Linked DNA regions of Homo sapiens: all the other regions are linked to region 1. The links are contacts of gene promoters, found by promoter capture Hi-C in human tissues and cell types (Jung and others, 2019). All regions are on one chromosome and are shown on one strand. Each heading gives the region's core, a stretch centred on a gene start or on the middle of the fragment in contact. The rest is flanking DNA. Distances are from core to core; before and after follow the strand shown.

Evidence for each region. The method cuts DNA at HindIII sites, captures the fragments that hold promoters and counts their contacts. A contact is called where the count stands out against the background at its distance.
Region 2: the fragment with the promoter of MKNK2 here is called in contact with the fragment with the promoter of LINGO3 in region 1 in 2 of the 25 tissues and cell types used here (lymphoblastoid cells and spleen).
Region 3: a fragment that was not itself captured here is called in contact with the fragment with the promoter of LINGO3 in region 1 in 2 of the 25 tissues and cell types used here (dorsolateral prefrontal cortex and spleen).
Region 4: a contact is called between a fragment that was not itself captured here and the fragment with the promoter of LINGO3 in region 1, in 8 of the 25 tissues and cell types used here (H1 embryonic stem cells, adrenal gland, dorsolateral prefrontal cortex and 5 more).

What each region holds. Positions count from the first base shown.
Region 1 is chr19:2,306,255-2,309,455 of GRCh38, forward strand. LINGO3 (leucine rich repeat and Ig domain containing 3) reads right to left here and starts at 1,900. Exons shown (of 2, transcript NM_001101391.3): 1 at 1,822-1,900. The HindIII fragment of the contact is 18,961 bases long and covers 1-3,201 here.
Region 2 is chr19:2,049,071-2,052,493 of GRCh38, forward strand. It overlaps MKNK2 (MAPK interacting serine/threonine kinase 2), which reads right to left and starts at 2,174. Exons shown (of 14, transcript NM_199054.3): 1 at 2,026-2,174; 2 at 1,731-1,877. The coding sequence starts at 1,781. RefSeq lists enhancers at 426-1,082, 1,259-1,318 and silencers at 889-1,078, 1,809-2,348. The HindIII fragment of the contact is 30,775 bases long and covers 1-3,423 here.
Region 3 is chr19:2,592,466-2,595,733 of GRCh38, forward strand. The region is part of intron 2 of GNG7 (G protein subunit gamma 7); the gene reads right to left. It also overlaps the pseudogene RN7SL121P. Among named protein-coding and RNA genes, the nearest start is that of MIR7850, 37 kb to the right of the region's middle. RefSeq lists an enhancer at 1-493. The HindIII fragment of the contact is 5,318 bases long and covers 1-3,268 here.
Region 4 is chr19:2,613,495-2,616,869 of GRCh38, forward strand. The region is part of intron 2 of GNG7 (G protein subunit gamma 7); the gene reads right to left. Among named protein-coding and RNA genes, the nearest start is that of MIR7850, 16 kb to the right of the region's middle. The HindIII fragment of the contact is 8,165 bases long and covers 1-3,375 here.

The sequences.
Region 1 (3,201 bases), core at 650-3,149:
AACCTGGATCTGACGCCAGCTCCTACCCACAAAATCCCAGCTCCCCACTAGAGGGTGAAGGGCGCTCTTTGGAGGCCCGAGATTGACATGTGGTGGTGGGCGGCTTGATGGGGCCCACCCGGGGCCAACTTTGCTCGCAGAGTTCTTCAAGAGGCTCTACCTGGTGACGAGGTAGTGACTCAGGGGGCGCCGGGGAATGACAGTGCTGTGGGAAGAGACATCAAACTGCCTTCTATTCCCACTCAGCAAGGCACCTTCAGGTCCCGGCTTACCCTGGGGGTGGACGGCTGAGGCTGAGGGAGGCCAGGCAGGGCTGCTGCCGTAACCATCGTGACCTGAGCATCTGTTTTATGGTGGCACCACACTGCAGCCGAGGTGGGCAGCATCTCATTTAATCCCATGTGGGGTGGATCTGAGAGAGGGGACGTCATTTGCCGGAAGTCACCGGTGAAGACCAGACAGGCAGGGCAGGGAAGGCTGAGTTGAACCCTCCTAAGCCCCCATCCCACCGCCCGGCTGCCCCCTTCCTGCCACCCCACATCATCGAGATGGGGACAGGAGCTGGGTCTACAGGGGAAGCCCGTGGGTTCTTCCCACTCAGATCCTGTCTCCGACGATGGCTGCTGCTTCGGCTCAGAGAACAGCCAGGGTAAGGCCATGCCGCGGCAGCCCACCCCACACCAGCCTCCTGATAAAGCCAGCACCACCCTCCCTGAACCTGTTTCCAGCCTGCGTCCTCCACCTGACCACTCACACCTCACACCTTCTGCATCCTCTCCAGGCCACTTCCAGGGAGCCCTCCTGGGTTGCTCTGGTTCTCACAGCTCTGTTGTCCCTGAAGGCTCCCCCCAGCCAAGCCCCAGATCGTCCCTCTGCAAATACCACTGCACAGCAGACGCCCGCTCCCCACCCCCGCCGGAGCAAGGGTGTCTGCAGCCTCGCTGCGTCCATGGTTTAGCCAGGGACCGCTTGCTAAAATGCAGCTTCTGGGGCACATCGCCTCAGAAGTTCTGACTCCTCAGAACTGGGGGGGCCGGGACACCGGCACCGTTAGCGCCCCAAGCACACGTTGAGAAACCCAGTTACATGGTGGTCTCCAGCGTAAGGACCCGGGGCTTTTCTTGTGCCCGGACCAAGGCACGAGGTGCTGCTCCCCTAAACTTGTTGAATGGGACTCAGGGCCTCCCCTGGCCAGGCCCCAGAGGCCCGGGAGGTGGCGGCACCCACTCAGGGTGCCCAGGCCCACCATTTCTGGTGCTATTCAGACGCCCCCAGAGCAGGGGGACTCAGCCCTATGCCCCCAGGTCCCTCCCCGCCAGGCCGGGCCGTCAGCTCCAGCGATGGAGCAGGCTCCGGTGTGGACCCCAGATACCCTTTGCGTCTTCCAGCTCCGCACCCCCAGGCTGGACCAGACCCGGCTCGGGGGAGACAGGGCAGGAAGGCGCGGGCTGCAGGCTCTATTCGGACGTTCCCCACACCCCAGACCCAACCAGTGCCCCCTTCATCTCCTCCTGGAGAGGAGCGCATCCTCCCAGCGTCCCCAGTGCCCCGGGGAGATGCCCACCCGATTCCCCGCTCCTTGGCGCCCCAGAGGAGGGGCGGGGGGCCCCAGGGTGGGGAGTTCGCCCCCAAAGTTTCCAGGGGGAGCGTCGGGGGCCTGGCAAGGAGCGATGAGCCCGGGAGGGGTGCGCGGGGCAATTTCCCCCGGCTGAGGATGGGGTCGCGGGTTGGGGGCTTTGGGCGGCAGGGTCGCAGGGTGCAGGTGAGGGGTCCCCAGGTCTGCGGGCGCGCCCCACGCCGGGCCCCGGCACGGCCACTCACCTGGGCGGCTCCGCCGCGGACACGGCGCGGGCTGCGGCGCGGGGGCCGCCCGGAGCCGACACGAGCAGCCGCCGCCGCCGCCGCCGCCGCCGCCGCCGCCTCCCGGGCTCCGCCGTGCGCGCCGCCGCCGCGCGCAACCGCCCGCCGGTCTCCTCGGCGCGCCTGGCGGGGGCGCGCGGGGGCTGCGCTGGGCCGCGTGCGCGGCGGCTGGGGCCGCAGGTGTGAGAGGCCACGTGGGCGCAGGTGCGGGGACACTGGGAGCGCGGGTGCAGAACCCCTCCGTGCGCATCCCGGGCGCTTCGTGTCCGAGGACCTCCTGTCCCCACGGCCTGGGTGAGCCTGCGGAGACGGCCGTGCCGTGCAATAAACGCAGGGGCACCCCAAGTGCAGCAGGTTGTTCCGTGTGGAACCTTCTGGAAGCTACCATCGCCTCCTCTGCCCCCCGTCCCCCACCCCTAGTCCAGGCCGCCACCATCTGCACCTGGACATCTGCCACAGCCCAGCCCAGGCCCATTCCTTATGTGGCCCTCAGAGGAAGCCCCTCAGAGGAAGCTTAGCCACTGGGCTCCAGAACCTGCCGTGATTCCCTATTGCCGTGAGGGTCCCGTCTGCACCCCACCTACCCTGGAATTTCTCTTTCTTTCGTTCTTTCTTTCTTTCTTTCTTTCTTTTTTTTTTTGAGATGGAGTCTTGCTCTGTTGCCCAGGCTGGAGTACAGCGGTGCCATCTTGGCTCACTGCAACCTCCGCCTCCTGGGTTCAAGCGATTCTCCTGCCTCAGCCTCCCAAGTAGCTGGGATTACAGGCACCCGCCACCACGCCCGGCTAATTTTTGTATTTTTATTAGAGACGGATTTTCAGCATGTTGGCCAGGCTGGTCTCAAACCCCTGACCTCGGGTGATCCACCCACCTCGGCCTCCCAAAGTGCTGGGATGACAGGTGTGAGCCACCGCCCGGCTGCCTGCACTGTTTGGTCTGCCGCACCACCTCCTTCCCCCTGGCCTGTCCTCACTCACTCTTTCCCGGGCTCCACCCCCTCAGCCTTCCTCAAACAGGCCAAGTCCCTCCAGTCCCAGGCCTTTGATCTTCGCTGTGCCCAGCTTGGACAGCCTTTCTCTCTGTCCCTCCATCGAGCAGCTTGGAGCCTCTCAGTTTGTCTAATGGGCTTGTTCCCCAATGTGCCTTCCGCCTAGCACACAGCAGCGCACACACCAAGTGCACTGCGAGTGCTCATGGAAAGTTTTTTACCTTTTTTTTTGTCTTTTTTTTTTTTTTTTTTTTTTGAAATGGAGTTTTGCTCTCGTCACCCATTCTGGAGTGCAGTGGTGCAATCTTGGCTCACTGCAACTTCCACCTCCCGGGTTCAGGCGATTCTCCTGT
Region 2 (3,423 bases), core at 924-3,423, 260 kb before region 1:
GGCCACCGTTCCCCTGTGCCAGCCACAGCCTCCAACTCAGCAAAGCTACAGATGGACGGCCGCAGCCACCACAGCGGAGGGGCCAGGCACCACGAGACTCCGCGGCCTCCTCGCCCGTGTACAGGGGAGCCCCAGGCACACGCGCCTGCAGTCTCAGAGCCTCACTTTCCCATCTGCGAACGGAAAGAAACCCAAGGCACCCACAGACGTGCCTCCCTGCTGGGCTGCTGCCTGCTGGAGGCAAGGAGAGTATTTCAGGAGAGGTGGCCCCAATCCAGGGAGCAGCCGTGCATGGTGGGGGCTGTGGGGGGAGATTCCTAGAGCAACCGGTCCCGGCCACCTGGAGGAACACCTCACAGCCAGGACTGCCTGCCAGGCCCTCCTCCACCAAGACGCCCACCTTCCCAGCTCCCAGCCAGGCTGCCCTGGCCATGCACAGAGGCCGGCCCACAATCCTGGGCAGTGTGGGCGGTCCTGGTCCCACTGTTCTAGGTCTGGCTGTGGGACTCGAGTCAGCAGGCCTTGGCAGGAGGTGGCTGGAACCATCTAGAAAGTTCAAGTGTGCTTTAGCTGCCTGGCTGGCCCCATGCACTGACTCTGTATCAGCTCATGCCTGGCCCTAGGAGGGAGAAGACCACTGTCAGGTCCTCCTCTTTCCCGCCCAGCCCCTGACACTCTGATGGTGCCAGGCCTGCTGCCCTAGGGGAAAACTGGGCAGGGGTGGCAGGGGTGGAGTGCTGCCCTGGGGCACTGGCTGGACAGACCTGGGAATTCTTCCCAGTCTCTCTTTGCTCCTCCCACCCTGGAGCACCGCGTTGTGTGTACACACAAGACAGAGACACACACACACACAAACACACACACATACACTCACACTCTCTCTTCCTCTCTCCAGTCCTGCCTTCCCTACCGGGCAACAGGTCCCTGCCCAAGGAAGCCCAGTGAAGCGATTACATAACCCCGGCCTGAGGGGTGGGGCGGGCCGGCTGACATCACTGCGTCCCCTGGGCCAGGTCCTGCGGGGCCCCTGCCCAGCACCTGCCCTCCCCTTCCCCCCCAAGATTTGCTCATCTGAAACCAGCACTCAACAGCAGTCACCACCCGGGCTGCGCAGAAACTTCCCGCTCCGACAGGAAACAGCACTTGGGCCTGGGGTGTCTGCGAAGTGCAGGGCTGAGGGGACATCCCATCCCCTCCCCCACGGCACAGGCCCCCTGGGGGTGGGTGCACCTGACCAGCCCGGCCTGGGGATTCTGAAAGAAAGTCCCCAGAAGCCACATGGAGGTGGGAATGGGACTGTGGCCCGCTGACCCGTCCCCACCAGGGCACAACCAGCTGGAGCTTGCAGGGGACACCCCCCATAAGCCACATGCAGCGACTGGGACAGGACTGCAGCCTGCTGACCCCCCAGAACATACCCGGCGGGGGCTTGCAGGGGACACACAGCCTGGTGCCCTGACCCGGAGGGGGCTCCTGCTCCCAGCCTCACTTGGGGGTCCTGGAGGAAGGACCCGGCGGCCATGGCTGGAGAGAGGACTGTGGCCTGCTGAACCCCCATCCTCGCACACCGACCCCGCTTCAGCGCACGGCCGGCCCGGGCAGCCCCGGGTGTAGGGCGGGGGCCAGGCACGAGCCCCGGGAGCCGATCTTAGGGGCGGGCCCCGCGCCCCCCACGCCGGCCATTCCGGTGGTCCAGCCCGGAGCGCCCCCAAACCGACCCCGGGCCTCACCTTGAACGAACGGTGGAAACCCTGAAGTTCGGCTGGTTTCTTCTGCACCATCTTCTGTCCGGGCCCCGCCAGCGGGGGAGGGGACCGAGGGCCCGGGGGGAGGCCCGAGGGCGGGCGGCCGGGCGGGGGGCGGCCGAGGAGGGGACCCTGCGGGCGGGAGCAGACAAAGGGAGGGCGGTGAGCGGAGCCCGGCCTGCCAGGAGCGCGGACCGGGCGGGGGCGGCGAGGGCTCCGCGGGGCCCGTTTCCCGCTACCGGGTCGGTGTCCTCGGGGCCGCCCTGGGGTTCGCACTCACCGGGGTCGGGCTTGGGCCGGGGCCGCAGTGCCGCCGCCGCCCCACGTCGCGCAGCCCGGACCCCGCTCCGCGGACCGCGCGGGGAACAGCGCCGCCGCCGCCGCCAGCGCGGACCCCTCTACCTGGGCCACCGCCGCTGAGAGGAGCCGGGCGCGTCGCCGCCGCCGCCACCTTTATAGGCCCGGACCTGCTCTGGCCCCGCCCCCGACGCAGGCTCCGCCCGGCCTCACCCCCTGCGCACGACGTGGGCGGAGCCAGAAGAGGGCGCTCTCCGGGAACCCAGTGCGGCTGCGCGCTCCGGCGGTGGGGCGTGTCCGAAACGGCTAGCGCACGCCTGCGCAGTGCGGCGCACGGGGGTCTCGGTGCGGAACCTAGGCAGCGACCCTGCGGCGCGCCCGGAGCTGGCCTGTTTTTGCCGCCTGAGGCTCGCGGGGCCCGTGGGACCTGCGAGGCCCTGGGCCGTGTCCTACCGCCTGGCCCCACACAGGGCAACTCCCTTGGCCTGTCAACCCAGGCCTAGTATACCCCGACTCCCTTGGTTCATGCCCTCGCTCTAGAACCTGCCATGGCTCCCTCTTGCAGTTCTCCAGTGCTGGCTCCAGCAGTCCCCCTCGTGCACCACCAGCACGCTTGGAGTCCCAGCCACTCCCTTCTAGTGCTGGGGGACCAGCCACCGCCACCTACTTTCTTCTTCCCCTGGGCCACCCTGCCTGGGGAGCACTGAGCTCCCCGAGTTTGCTTTGTGGTTGGCAGGAACCAGAGTAGAGGGTGGGGACCGAGGTCTGTGAAGGACCCTTCCTCTGTCCTCGAATAGCATTTCAGGGAGAACTGGGACCTGAGACCCACTGGGAAAGAGCCCAAGGGGTGGATGGTCGCCAGGACAGGAAGTAAAACACAGTCCCATTTTGGCTGGGGCCCCAAACCAGGCTTAGATAGAATCAGCCTGTCCTGAGCTGCCAGTCCCCCATCCCACAGCATCCTGGTTCAAAGTGCTCCCCAGGCCCCGGGCCTGGGGCACACAAGGAGTGGGGGTTCCCCTGCTGGGTGGACTGTGGTCTCCTCTTCTGCAGGGGTTTCCAGAAGCTTCGCACAGCCCATCCCACCATCCCCCAACCAGGCCCTGAGCTCAAGAGGGGCTGGAGCCCCACTGACCTGAAGCTGGAGGGCCCCTGCCTGCAAGGCCACAGCTCTCAGGCCACAGGGGCTGGGAGGCCTGGCCTCAGCCACCCCCGGGGCATTGGGGGGAAGCCTGTGGGGAATTCCCAGCCAGAACCCAGCCCAGCACCTGGCATTGCCCTGACTCTTGGCAATGGGGGGACAGAAAACCAGGTCCCCCAGCCCCCCTTATTGTGCATGTGGGTGCGTGTGTGTGCGTGTGAACACATACACGCACAAACA
Region 3 (3,268 bases), core at 398-2,897, 290 kb after region 1:
GGCTCATGCCTGTAATCCCAGCACTTTGGGAGACTGAGGCAGGAAGATCGCTTGAGCCCAGGAGTTCATGACCAGCCTGGGAAACATAGCAAGATCCTATCTCTAGAAAAAATTTTTAAAAAGCATCCAGGTGTGCTGGTATGTGCCCATGGTCCCAGCTACTCAGGACGTTGAGGCAGAAGGATTGCTTGAGCCCAGGAGGTCGAGGCTCTAGTGAGCTATGATTGCATCGTTTCACTCCAGCCTGGGTGACAGAGCAACAAGGAGAGGGAAGGAAGGGGAGGGGAGGGGAGGGGGAGGGGAAGGAAGGAAGGAGAGGGAGGGAGGGAAGAGAGAAAGAAAGAAAGAAAGAGAGAGAGAGAGAGGGAGGGAGGGAGAGAGGGAGAGAGGCAGGGGAGAGGAGAAGGAAAAAAAGAAAGAAGAAAACGAAGGAAGGAAGGAAAGAAGGAAGGAAGGAGAGGGAGGGAAGGAAGGAAGGAAGGACGGAAGAAAGAAAGAAAGGGAGGGAGGGAGAGAGGGACGGAGGGAGGGGAAAGGAGAAGGGAAAAAAAGAAAGAAGAAAAGGAAGGAAGGAAAGAAGGAAGGAAGGAAGGAGAGGGAGGGAGGAAAAAAAAAGAAAAGAAAATGCATACTCTTTCTAACCAACAGCTGAGGTCACAAAAAAGTAAGAAAATCCAGCACAGACTAAAAACTTCAAAGAGGACAGGGCACCGGGTGGTGAGAAGTGGCCTGTGGCCACCCAGATTGAGGGGAGAGGCTTCTGGTCTTGGTCACCAACGGCCTGATGTTGTTCTTAATCTCTGCCTCTCTTAAAAATGTATAGTGGAAAATTCCTTTTTTAAAAAAAAAACTTGGAATGTTTGTCTTTATTTTGTGCTTTATATTTTCAAAGTGAAAAGAAATAGTATTGAGTCAATTTTTGTTTTTTAAAATATTCGTTCTATATATTTACAAGCCTTCAAGCTGCTCTAAAGATTTCAAAAGTATTAAGAGTAGGACTGGGCGTGGTGGCTCACACCTGTAATCCCAGCACTTTGGGAGGCTGAGGTAGGTGGATCACCTGAGGTCAGAAGTTCGAGACCAGCCCGGGCAACAAGGCGAAACCTCGTCTCTACTAAAAATACAAAAATTAGCCGGGCATGGGGGCGGCTGCCTGTAGTCCCAGCTACTAGGGGTGCTGAGGCAGGAGAATCGCTTGAACCTGGGACACGGAGCTTGCAGTGAGCCGAGATTGTGCCACTGCACTCCTGCCTGGGCAACAGAGTGAGACTCCATCTAAAAAAAAAAAAAAATTGCAAATACTTTTCCCGGGGTAGCACTTTTTTTTTTTTTTTAAACAATCCTTGGAGTTCTGTGGTCCATGCCATTTCCTTCTGTTTCAATGTTATATATGTTTTGATTACTATTGTGATGTTTTAAGTTTTCTGAAGCAAGCTGAGAGGCAGGCCGAAATATTTGATGCCAAAAAAAAAAAAAAACTTTCTTACCTCATTCACCCCAAACCTTCTCAAATCTGGATTAAATACTATACTTTAAAACAAACATGAGGTGCTTCTGAAGGGGAGGAAAATTTATTTCTCTGCTTTTCTATTATACAAGTTGTTTACAGAAACTGCAAATCAAGGCCGGGCACAGTGGCTCACGCCTGTAATCCCAGCGCTTTGGGAGGCCAAGACGGGCGGATCACCTGAGCTCAGGAGTTCGAGACCAGCCTGGCCAACATGGAGAAACCCCATCTCTACTAAAAATACAAAACACTTAGCTGGGTGTGGTGGTGGGCACCTGTAGTCCCAGCTACTTGGGAGGCTGAGGCAGGAGAATCGCTTGAACCTGGGAGGTAGAGGTTGCAGTGAGCCGAGATATCACACCACTGCACTCCAGCCTAGGCGACAGAGTGAGACTCCCTCAAGAAAGAAAGAAAGAAGGAAAGAAAGAAGGAGGGAAGGAAGGAAGGAAGGAAGGAAGGAAGGAAGGAAGGAAGGAGGAAGAAAGAAACTGCAAATTTAAAAAATTACATATAGTGGAAAATTTCAAACACAGCCTGAAGCACGCAGGCCAGGACGAGGTCTCTCTGAGTGTCGTCACCTCCTGCAACGGGAATTAACATTCTGCCCTTCTTCTGTTCTCACTTCTCTCTCCAGCTTTGCACGGGTATTTCACACAAATTCAAGACATCATATGACTTTGCCTGTAGAACCTTCAGAATGTTCTCTAATCACTGAAGCTTTCTGATTTCCCAACACAGAACCACCCAATCAAATTAACACTGTCTTATTATCAACTTGCTCCATGATTATCAACAATAATTTCCTGTTACCAATAACCAGCCTGTGACCCATTGTCCATGATTATCTCAAAAATGTCTTTAATGGCCCGGCGTGGTGGCTCACGTCTGTAATCCCAGCCCTTTGGGAGGCTGAGGCGAGCTGATTGCTTCAGGACAGGAGTTTGAGACCAGCCTGGGCAACATACCAAGACCTCATCTCTACAAAAAATACAAAAAAATTAGCTGGGCATGGTGGCACGTACCTGTAGTCCCAGCTATTTGAAAGGATGAGGTGGGAGGATCGCTTGAGCCCAGGTGGTCAAGGTTGCAGTGAACCATGATGGCACCACTGCACTCCAGCCTGGGCAACAGAGCGAGACCCTGTCTCAAAAGAAATTAAATTTTTTTTTTTTTGAGACGGAGTCTCACTCTGTTGCCCAGGCTGGAGTGCAGTGGCGTGATCTTGGCTCACTGCAACCTCCACCTCCCGGGTTCAAGCGATTCTCCTGCCTCAGCCTCCCAAGTAGCTGGCATTACAGGCGCCCGCCACCACGTCCGGCTAATTTTTGTATTTTTAGTAGAGACGGGGTTTTGCCATGTTGGTCAGGCCGGTCTTGAACTCCTGACCTCAGTTGATTGATCCACACACCTCAGCCTCCCAAAGTGCTGGGATTATAGGTGTGAGCCACCATGCCCGGCTGAAAGGAAATTAAATTTAAGGGCCGAGTGCAGTGGCTCATGCCTGTAATCCCAGCACTTTGGGAGGCCGAGGCGGGTGGATTGCCTGAGCTCAGGAGTTTGAGACCAGCCTGGGCAACATAGCAAAACTCCGTCTCTAGTAAAAATACAAAAAATTAGCCGGGCGTGGTGGCGGGTGCCTGTAATCCCAGCTACTCGGGAGGCTGAGGCAGGAGAATGGCGTGAACCCGGGAGGCGGAGCTTGCAGCGAGCCAAGATCGCACCACTGCACTCCAGCCTGGGCAACAGAGTGAGACTCTGTCT
Region 4 (3,375 bases), core at 874-3,373, 310 kb after region 1:
AGCTCCTGGGACTCTTCCTCCTCTCTCCCTCCCCACTCAGGGTGTGGATTTCAATGTGTGCAGCCTCCTGGGACCTCAGTAGGAGAGATGGTCACGGAATGCAGAGTCTCTTGGGGAATCTGTGGATTCCCCTAACCTGGGCGGGGGGTCTCAATCAGGGGTGATCCTGCCCCCAGGGGACACTGGGCAATGTCTGGGGACATTTGTGGTTGTCATGCCTGGAGGTGCTCCCGGCATGGAGTGGGTGGAGGCCAGGACGCCACTCAGCACCCTGCAGTGCCCAGGATGGCCAGACCCCAGAGGATCTAGCCCCAGATGTCCACAGTACCTAGCAGGAGAGATCCTGATTTAATTAATTGGTGAGGGGGAAGATCAAGGGACCCTGGCTATGCCAAGAAACTCGGACTGCAGCAGTGTGTGGATCCTGAATGAGAAAGGTGCGAATCAGACAGAAGCTCGCAGCCTAAGGCCAGCGAAGGCCACGGCCACAGCGACATCTAAAGGCCGGCAAGTGCAATGCAGAATCCACCCAGGGAACTCGGGCCCCGCGCCTACCCCCGGGGTAAAGGGGGCCAGCCTCGCACAGGTGGGTCCGTTGCAGGCGTCTGTTGCGAGACCACATCCTCACCACCCGGTGAACGGCACTGGGAGCAGACTCAAGAGGCTCGAGAGGTCCCAGGAGGGCGGGAAGAGAGTTCCCCCAGCTACAGCCTGAGCATGGTCGCCAGAAAGCAGGTGCGGCGACTTTCCCTAGCACCCTCTCCCTGCCCTCTGTGTACCCGCAGGGGGGCCCTGCACGTCGGGTCTCAGGCACATGTGTGGTGAAATGCACACAACAAAAAAGCTCCCTTTCCAGACATCCAGTGGCATTCGTGCAGCCATCATCTCTAGCTAGCTCTAGAACATTCTCAGCCCCCCAAAAAGACACCCCATCCCTATCAGCTGTCACTTCCCATCCCCCTCCCCAGCCCCTGGCACCCACACATCCCCTTCCTGCCTCTCTAGACTGGCCTGTCCTGGACATTTCATAGAAATAGGATGACACACTGTGTGGCCTTTTGGATCTGGCATCTCTCACTGAGTGTGACATCCTCAAGGGGCATCCAGGCTGCACGTGGCCTGGGTCAGAGTCTCGTTCACGGCTGAGTCTCGTTCCAGTGTGTGGAGGGCCACGCTGTTTATCTATTTACCCACGGACGGACACTTGGGTCATTTCCACCTTTTAGCCATTGTGAATCGTACTGTATGAACATTTGTGGCAAGGTTCTATTTGAACACCTGCTTCCAATTCCTCTGGGCAGATAACTAGGAGCGGAATTGCTGGGTCATGTGGCGACTCCGCGTTCAGCCTTTTGAGGAACCACCAGACTGGTTTCCAAGGCGGCTGCCCCATCTTGCATCACACATCAATTCTCAATGCCAAGGCGTTCCTCAGCTTTTAAACAAGGCACTGAGGCAGGAGGCAGGCAGCTGATTGTTGAAGGTCACCCCGTAGCCATTGGCAGAGCCAGAACTTGCAGCTGTGATTTGTGCCGCGGCTCCTGCCCAAGCCCTCCTTCCCTGGCTTCAGTGCTGGGCTGGGCAAGGTGTGTGGAATAGCCCCGCTTTCTAGGCCACTTTCGGGGTACTGGGCGGCCACTGTCTGGTCTGAAGGTGCCATCTGTGACACTCTTTTTTTTTTTTTTGAGACGGAGTCTCGCTCTGTCGCCCAGGCTGGAGTGCAGTGGCGCGATCTCGGCTCACTGCAAACTCCACCTCCCAGGTTCCCACCATTCAGGCTCCCCCAGACCTCCGCCTCCAGGGAGCCCTCCAGAATGTCCTTCCTCCTGCCTTCAATGCTCCTCCCCATCCTGCAGGGGTCGGCAAGGATGTCCTCTCCTTAGAGACCTTCCTGGACACCACGTGGCACAGACTCTGTCCTCTTGGTGCCACCTCATCCTATTTTCTTTGTCTTTTCCGGTTTTTTTTTTTTTTTTTTTTTTTTTTGAGATAGGGTCTTGCTCTGTTGCCCAGGCTGGAGTGCAGTGGTGCAGTCACAGCTCACTGCAACCTCAGCCTCCTGGGCTCAAGTGATCCTCCTGCCTCAGCCTCCAGAGTAGCTGGAACTACAGGCACCCACCACCACGCCTGGCTAATTTTTTTGTATTTTTAGTAGACATGGGGTTTCACCATGTTAGCCAGGATGGTCTCGATGTCCTGACCTCATGATCTGCCCGCCTCGGCCTCCCAAAGTGCTGGGATTACAGGCATGAGCCACCACGCCTGGCCCATCTGTGAGATTCTGAAGAGCCACTGCTGAGCAATTAAGCTGCCCTCTGCAGTGGGAAATTTTCTTTGCAAGGAAGCAGCAAGGCGGAGGAGGCAGGAGGGTTCCCTAAGATTGTGCACCCACGGCAGCCAGCAATGTGCCTGACACAGTGAAGGGCCTCGGCAAAGGGGCGCCTCCTGTCCCCTTCAAATCCTTACGGGCCACCCCAGGATCTGGTGACCTGGAACAGACTCCTGTATGGGCCTTTTTCCCCTGGTGCCAGCAGGGAACAGGGCAGGATGGAAAAAACACCCAGTAGCCAGTGGCCCACTGATGTCACCAAGCTGCAGGGCTGCCCAGCATTGATTAAACACAGCTGGTGTGGGCCAGGCATGGCACCTCACACCTGTGATCCCAGTGCTTTGGGAGGCTGAGGCGAGAGGATCCCTTGAGCTCAGGAGTTCAAAACCAGCCTGGGCAAAATAGTGAGACCCCATCTCTAATTTATTATTATTATTTTGAGCCGGAGTCTCGCTCTGCTGCCCAGGCTGGAGTGCAATGGCACGATCTCGACTCATTGCAACCTCTGCCTCCCGTGTTCCAGCGATTCTCCTGCCTCAGCCTCCCGAGTAGCTGGGATTACAGGCGTGTGCCACCGTGCCCAGCTAATTTTTGTATTTTTAGTAGAGATGAGGTTTTGTCATGTTAGCCAGGCTAGAGACTCCATCTCTATTAAAAAACAAACAAAGAAAGGCTGGGTGTGGTGGCTCATGCCTATAATCCCAGCACTTTGGGAGGCCAAAGCGAGCGGATCACCTCAGGTCAGGAGTTTGAGACCAGCCTGACCAACAGGGAGAAACCCCGTCTCTCCTAAAAATACAAAATTAGCCGGGCATGGTGGCGGGTGCCTGTAATCCCAGCTACTCAGGAGGCTGAGGCAGAATTGCTTGAACCCGGGAGGCAGAGGTTGCAGGTTGCAGTGAGCCGAGATCACGCCATCGCACTCCAGCCTGAGCAAAACCCCATCTCAAAAAAAAAAACCAGACAAATATAGCTGGTGGGTTCTTGGGCAAGGCTGGTGACCAGGGCCCTAGGGGAGGATGTTTCCAAGAGCTGCCAAGAGCAGT